2 separate regions of the Homo sapiens genome follow, and region 1 is linked to region 2. The links are contacts of gene promoters, found by promoter capture Hi-C in blood cells and fetal thymus (Javierre and others, 2016). All regions are on one chromosome and are shown on one strand. Each heading gives the region's core, a stretch centred on a gene start or on the middle of the fragment in contact. The rest is flanking DNA. Distances are from core to core; before and after follow the strand shown. Region 1 overlaps FNDC3B (fibronectin type III domain containing 3B). Region 2 holds the start of TNFSF10 (TNF superfamily member 10).

What was found. Contacts are between HindIII fragments. The CHiCAGO score rates a contact against its expected background, and 5 or more counts as called.
Region 1: a contact is called between a fragment that was not itself captured here and the fragment with the promoter of TNFSF10 in region 2, in 1 of 17 cell types (total B cells). The highest score is 5.2, in total B cells.

What each region holds. Positions count from the first base shown.
Region 1 is chr3:172,059,800-172,063,032 of GRCh38, forward strand. All of the region lies in intron 1 of FNDC3B (fibronectin type III domain containing 3B), which reads left to right. Among named protein-coding and RNA genes, the nearest start is that of FNDC3B, 22 kb to the left of the region's middle. The HindIII fragment of the contact is 4,567 bases long and covers 1-3,233 here.
Region 2 is chr3:172,522,014-172,524,974 of GRCh38, forward strand. It overlaps TNFSF10 (TNF superfamily member 10), which reads right to left and starts at 1,417. Exons shown (of 5, transcript NM_003810.4): 1 at 1,240-1,417. The coding sequence starts at 1,371. It also overlaps the pseudogene TBPL1P1. RefSeq lists an enhancer at 1,349-1,398. The HindIII fragment of the contact is 8,260 bases long and covers 922-2,961 here.

The sequences.
Region 1 (3,233 bases), core at 655-3,154, 460 kb before region 2:
GATGGTTTTATGTAAGGATGTTTATCTATAGTCCAGTGAATTAAAACTTTTAGGTAAATAGAGGGCATGTATTACTTATTCCTAGGGCAGTTCCTTTTGAATGATTTCACTTATTGAGAACTGTCATTTTGAAATGTTTCAAACCAATTAGGCATCTTTAGATCTAAATCTTCCAGCCTTCAGCTTTAGGGAATACATATTTGGATTTGCAAGAATGTGAAGATTTAGCCAGGTAGTCACTTCCTATTAGCTGTGAGAGGTCTTCGGACTCAATTGACTGGTGCTTGTTAAATATCTGTTTTTTTGGAGAATTTGTTTCCCTCCCGAAGAGAGAACCCTCATAGTCAGTGGGGCCCATTGACAATTCTCAAATACTATCTTTTAGGATTCTCGTGACTCAGTTTTGTAGTGAACTTTTGAATAAATATAAGTAATGAAAGATGGTAGATTTAATTTAAAAGTCTAGATTCTTTTAGATGTCAGTCAGTCCTGTTGCTAGGGTGGGGGGTGGTAGTGGTGTGTTCCCTCAGGTGAGAGTGTAGTGGTGGTGGTGGGCAGAGGGTAAGACACATTTATGAGTTGGCCCCACACCAGGCTTTTCTCTGTCTTCCCTAGGCCATGAGACTGATTACTTACCATGGTGAGAGAAAACCCTAAAGGCCCCCTCCACACTTCTCATTTGCCCTTTAGAAGACCTAGAAGATTGTAGGAACAGATAGATTGCATGAACTGGTACCTGAAGTTTAGGGAGCCATCAGTTCAATCAGTAGTAGTATTTATTTGAGTGTAGCTGTAAAGATGCGGCAAGAGAAGAAGCAGGGAGATGTCTAATTCCTCTGTTTGACTTTCCCACTAAAATCTAAATTCCTTGAAGGCAGAGACCGACACTTTCCTCTTCTCTTATATACAGAGACTGGCAAACAGACTGCTCAGCAAGTGTTTATTGAATGAATGATTTAATGATGGAGCAGGACATGTTGTTTTGACACTGAGATGCCATGTGTTTGAACCAGGTGAAAACTTATGTTTGATTTTAATTTTAAAGACATGTTCTAATTATAATTCTTACTATTGGAGGCATATGGAACTTTCAATCAAGAGGAATAACTGAGATACTTCAAATTATGTGAAGATAGAAAGGTTTTTCTTGTTCAGTCAATAATTATTGCATTGCAGATAACAGAAACCCACTTAAGCTAGTTTAAGCAATAAAGGTTTGAGGAAAATGAAGGCAGTGTTTCTATACCTCCTGAGCTCCTGGAACCAGCCCTGGGAAGTCACTGGAAGCACAGGTTGCATTTCATCTTTTCTTTGCTCTTCCTTCCCTGATATTTCTTTTTGCAGAGCCCATCCTATATGAATAATGGATGCTTATTCTAAACTCATGAAGTGATACCAATTTTTTCTTTTAAAACGGCCTGGTCTGCACATTACTTTTTTTTTTTTTTTTTGAGATGGAGTCTCGCTCTGTCACCCAGGCTAGAGTGCAGTGGCGTGATCTCGGTTCACTGCAAGCTCCGCCTCCCGGGTTCGCACCATTCTCCTGCCTCAGCCTCCCGAGTAGCTGGGATTACAGGTGCCCGCCACCAAGCCCGGCTATTTTTTTTTATGTTTAGTAGAGACAGGGTTTCACCGTGTTAGCCAGGATGGTCTCGATCTCCTGACCTCGTGATCCTCCCGCCTCGGCCTCCCAAAGTGCTGGGATTACAGGCATGAGCCACCACACCCAGCCTACTTTTTAATAGTAAATTGAAGTTATGGGTGTTAGATATATTCTTTGCAAGCCGTTTTGAAGCAGATTCTTTTCCTAATGTGTCATGTACAATCTGTGGGGGAAGAAGGTTATATAAAGCAAGAATGACTTCTATTCAACAAAATAGTGATATTCTATATTTTCCTGTCTCTTTTGTTTCTTTCTTTAAAATGAACTACAGTGAGACATGGCCAGATTGATTTCTTCCCTTAAATTGTCTCAGAAACTGTACCCAGTCCACTAATTGCTTTGTTCAGCGGACAGGAAATGGTTATATTTGCACAAGTTACACAATCTTAACTAAGTCGGGGCAAAGAACCAAAGAGATCTCTGATCTTTTTTTCCAGCATTAACCTTTCAGTTCCACAAACTAATGCATGATGCATAAACCAGGTTACTAGGGGACACTTATCAAAAACCATAAACTTATTTATCTGAATGACTTTCTGTTTAGGGATACTAAGAAAAGAAGTTACGTGAGGTAATCATGCTGGTGCTGAGGTTAAGTTTGTGCAGTTTCACTTCTTCCTTAATAGTTTTTTTATACATGCAATAAAGGACATGTCCGGAAGCTGATCAGTGCCAGCATGACCATGAAGTGCTCAGTCCCCATTCCTTCTCTCCTTACCCCTCAGCCCCCTTGCAGGCTATATACAAATTTATTCTTTTCCTTTTCTAGGGTTGGGAATTTGCCTCCTTTCTTCCTGCCCCTGTCTGTTATTGGTCCCTAGTACCCCAATTTCTGCTACTTTTCTCCTCCTTCTTTTTTTTTTTTTTGAGATGGAGTCTCTCTCCGTCACCCAGGCTGGAGTGCAGGGGCATGATCTCAGCTCATTGCAACCTCCGCCTCGCAGGTTCAAGTGATTCTCCTGCCTCAGCCTCCCGAGTAGCTGGGATGACAGATGTGTGCTACCACGCCTGGCTAATTTTTTGGATTTTTAGTAGAGATGGGGTTTCACTGTGTTAGCCAAGCTACCTGTCTTGACCTCCCAAAGTGCTGCGATTACAGGCGTGAGCCACCGCGCCTGGCCACTTTTCTCCTTCTTGAAAGTGGGATTTTCTCTTTATCATTGTTTGATTATTGTATAAGTATTATGATTGGCATTTTGCAATTTGAGCAGAGCTGATATTATATATGGTATTTCTAAGTACTTTTTTTTTTGACTCTGCCAAACTGTTAAGTCATTCTCCATCCATCTATCCATCCATCCACCCATCCATCCATCCTCTTCTCATTTTGACTTCTATTAGTTATTTCCTGAAGCCCGTATATCACTGAGAAAAAGTTAATCTTAAGTGAATAACTTAGGTCAAAATGAGAGGAGAATGAAGAATTAAGTGAATGTAGGCAGAGTCAGAAAAAAAAATAGTGTCTCTCTTTAAAGCATTACTTTTTTTGGTGATGCCTTTGAAGGAAGTGAAATTGGTGTATGATCTAATGCTACAAAACCATATCTTGCTCTCATAGATTTTAAGATTT
Region 2 (2,961 bases), core at 167-2,666:
GAGGGCAACACACACACTGGGGCCTGTCGGGGGTGGGAGGCTAGGGGAGGGAGAGCATTAGAACAAATCCTAATGCCTGTGGGGCTTACAACCTAGATGATGGGTTGATGGGTGCAGCAAACCACCATGGCACATGTATACCTATGTAACAAACCTGCACGTTCTGTACACGTATCCCAGAACTTAAAGTAAAATAAAAAAATTTAAAAATAAAGAAATCTGTTTGCCAGAATTCACAAAGAGCAATAGACCTCATGTGAGTTATGAATCTGAACTTCATCCTGCTGTGTGCTATTGGATAAAGACTCTAAGAGCTACATTACAGATTTTTTCGACAGGAAGTATCACAGTAACAAGGCCCTATTTAAAGGCTGTTGCTACTGCTGTGGAACAGATTTACCCATTTGTGTTTGAAAGCAGGAAAGAAATTTTATCATTCACCACTTAATTGGTTAGAATCTCTTACTGTGCACCTTTTAAAACCTGCTGCACATTGGACTCAAAAGGAAAACTGAACCAACGGTAATTGAGGAAATAGACTCTTTTATTTATTCATGGCTACAGTGTAAGCTCCAGTCCCTTTGGATTTTATTCCAAACCTTGTTATAATATAAAAAAGGAAGTTTACAAGACATGTCATTGCTGCTTTTACAAAAGGACATTCTATTTATTTTCGCAGGAATTCTCATGTCCCCATAAGCAGAGCTGTCACAGTGTGCACTACCTTAGGTTGTTTTATTGTTGTCATTGTTATTTTTTTCCATTTTGAGCTAATGTGTTTTATCTGTGAATAGTCTTTTACATTTTTGTATGCTGAAAATGGGCACCAAAGAACCTGTAAAAATTATCTTTTTCAATTGAATGTGCACAAATAAAAGTTTGGAAAAGGAAAACAAAAGAACTACAAAGCATTTAGCAGAAAGCTTTCATGAAGAGTTGCAATGGCTGATATTATAAAATACACATACTTTTAAAAACAAAAAATCCCTCAGGAGTTTTGTTGCCCACATCTGCTAGTAACTAGTGAAGCCAGTTGTGTAACTGCACTTAGTTTACACAATTTCTTGAACTTACAGTTTTGCAAAGACCTCAGTTGTTATGTGATTTAGCAGTTAGAGTGTACCCACAGAGAAAGGAAGCAGGAAAGTCTTCAGAGAGGGGCAAGCTGACATGCAAAGAAGCAGGTAACCAGACATTTGCTAAGCGCCTCGAAGACTGAGTGCACTGCACTGCACTGACCTGCTTCAGCTCGTTGGTAAAGTACACGTAAGTTACAGCCACACAGAGAGACTGCAGGAGCACTGTGAAGATCACGATCAGCACGCAGGTCTGTCCCAGGCTGGGTCCCCCCTGGACCTCCATCATAGCCATGATCCTGTCAGAGTCTGACTGCTGTAAGTCAGCCAGGCAGCCGGTCACTGAAGCCCTTCCTTCTCTATTCTTTTATAGTCAGTGAGGAAATGAAAGCGAATGAGTTGTTTTTCTGGGTTCTGTGGCCTTGGCCCCACCCACATCTATTGAACCTGCAACTGTCCCTCCCCTTTCCTACTGCCCAGGGACAGCTCTTGTCTCAAAGTAGTCGTTGGAAAGGAGGGAAACTGAAAGAAGCTCCTCTCCTTGCCCTCAGGATCCATGCACCCCTTATCTGCACTCACCTCAAGCCCATTTCTCTCTTCTCTTTCTTGCTCTCCTTTTGATAATGTCCTCAGCCAAAGAGGGGAGGGATTTTCTTTGCTTTTCCCTAACATATCCTCATTCTACCACAGAGCTCTAAGCCTCATGGCCTGGCTGTCATAGGCACAAGGCCTGTTTTCTAAATTATAAGATAATTTTTATGACCTGAAACTTCCATATGTGGTTTTTCTCATGCTACTGTGAGGGTGGGAAGAGGGCAGGGTGGGAGTGGATAAAGGAAAATAGAAATACTGTCTCATAGCAATGGTCTTGCTACATAATTCCATCTTGAATGTCAGAATCTAAATATTGACGACTTCTTCCTCTTTGCAAACCTTCAGACACAAATTCTAATCTCCTTCTCAGATCTCCATCCCTACCAAGACAACATGCCTGTGTGTTAGGCTGGACAGGTAGGAAGTAGTTGACACACTCAGAAAGGCAAAGGAAAAAAACATGTGGATGTTTTCCAAAATATTAACCCCATCACAATGTCTCGCTGTCACTATCCTTTTACAGATTAGGAAAAGAAGTTACAGGGAGTTAATTACCCTCAGATTCAGGACCCAGCCCCAAATCTCCCCACTATCAGATGTCATAAGCTGGCCCAGCTGTATGTTGTCTCTATATCTTATTCAGCATTTCTTTCTTTCCTTTTCTTCCTTTCTTTCTTTCTTTCTTTTCTTTTCTATTCTTTCCTTCTTTCCTTCTTTCTTTCTTTCTTTCTTTCTTTCTTTCTTTCTTTCTTTCTTTCTTTCTTTCTCTCTTTCATGTATTTATTTATTTTTTTGACAGAATCTCACTTTATCGCCCAGGCTGGAGTGCAGTGGTGCAATGGCACAATCTCGGCCCACTACAACCTCCACCTCCCAGATTCAAGCAATTCTCCTGCCTCAGCCTCCCAAGTAGCTGGGATTACAGGTGCATGCCACCATGCCCAGCTAATTTTTTTGTATTTTTAGTAGAGATGGGGTTTTACCATGTAGGCCAGGCTGGTCTCGAACTCCTGACCTCAAGTGATCCTCTTGCTTCAACCTCCCAACGTGCTGGGATTACAGGCATGAACCACTGCATGGGGCCATTGTTTAGTTATTCCATTCTTGACCCACTGAGTCAGAGTTTCTGGCAGTGGACTTAGGAACCTACATTTTTCAGCAAGTACTCCAAGAGATCCTTTGAAACCTAAAGTTTGGGACCCTAGATCTACAGTTACATTCCTGAGTTCATTCAGGCACCGCTGGTCACCATCACTTCCTGCCCTTGCCTTCTATCTGTAAATGAGTCTAT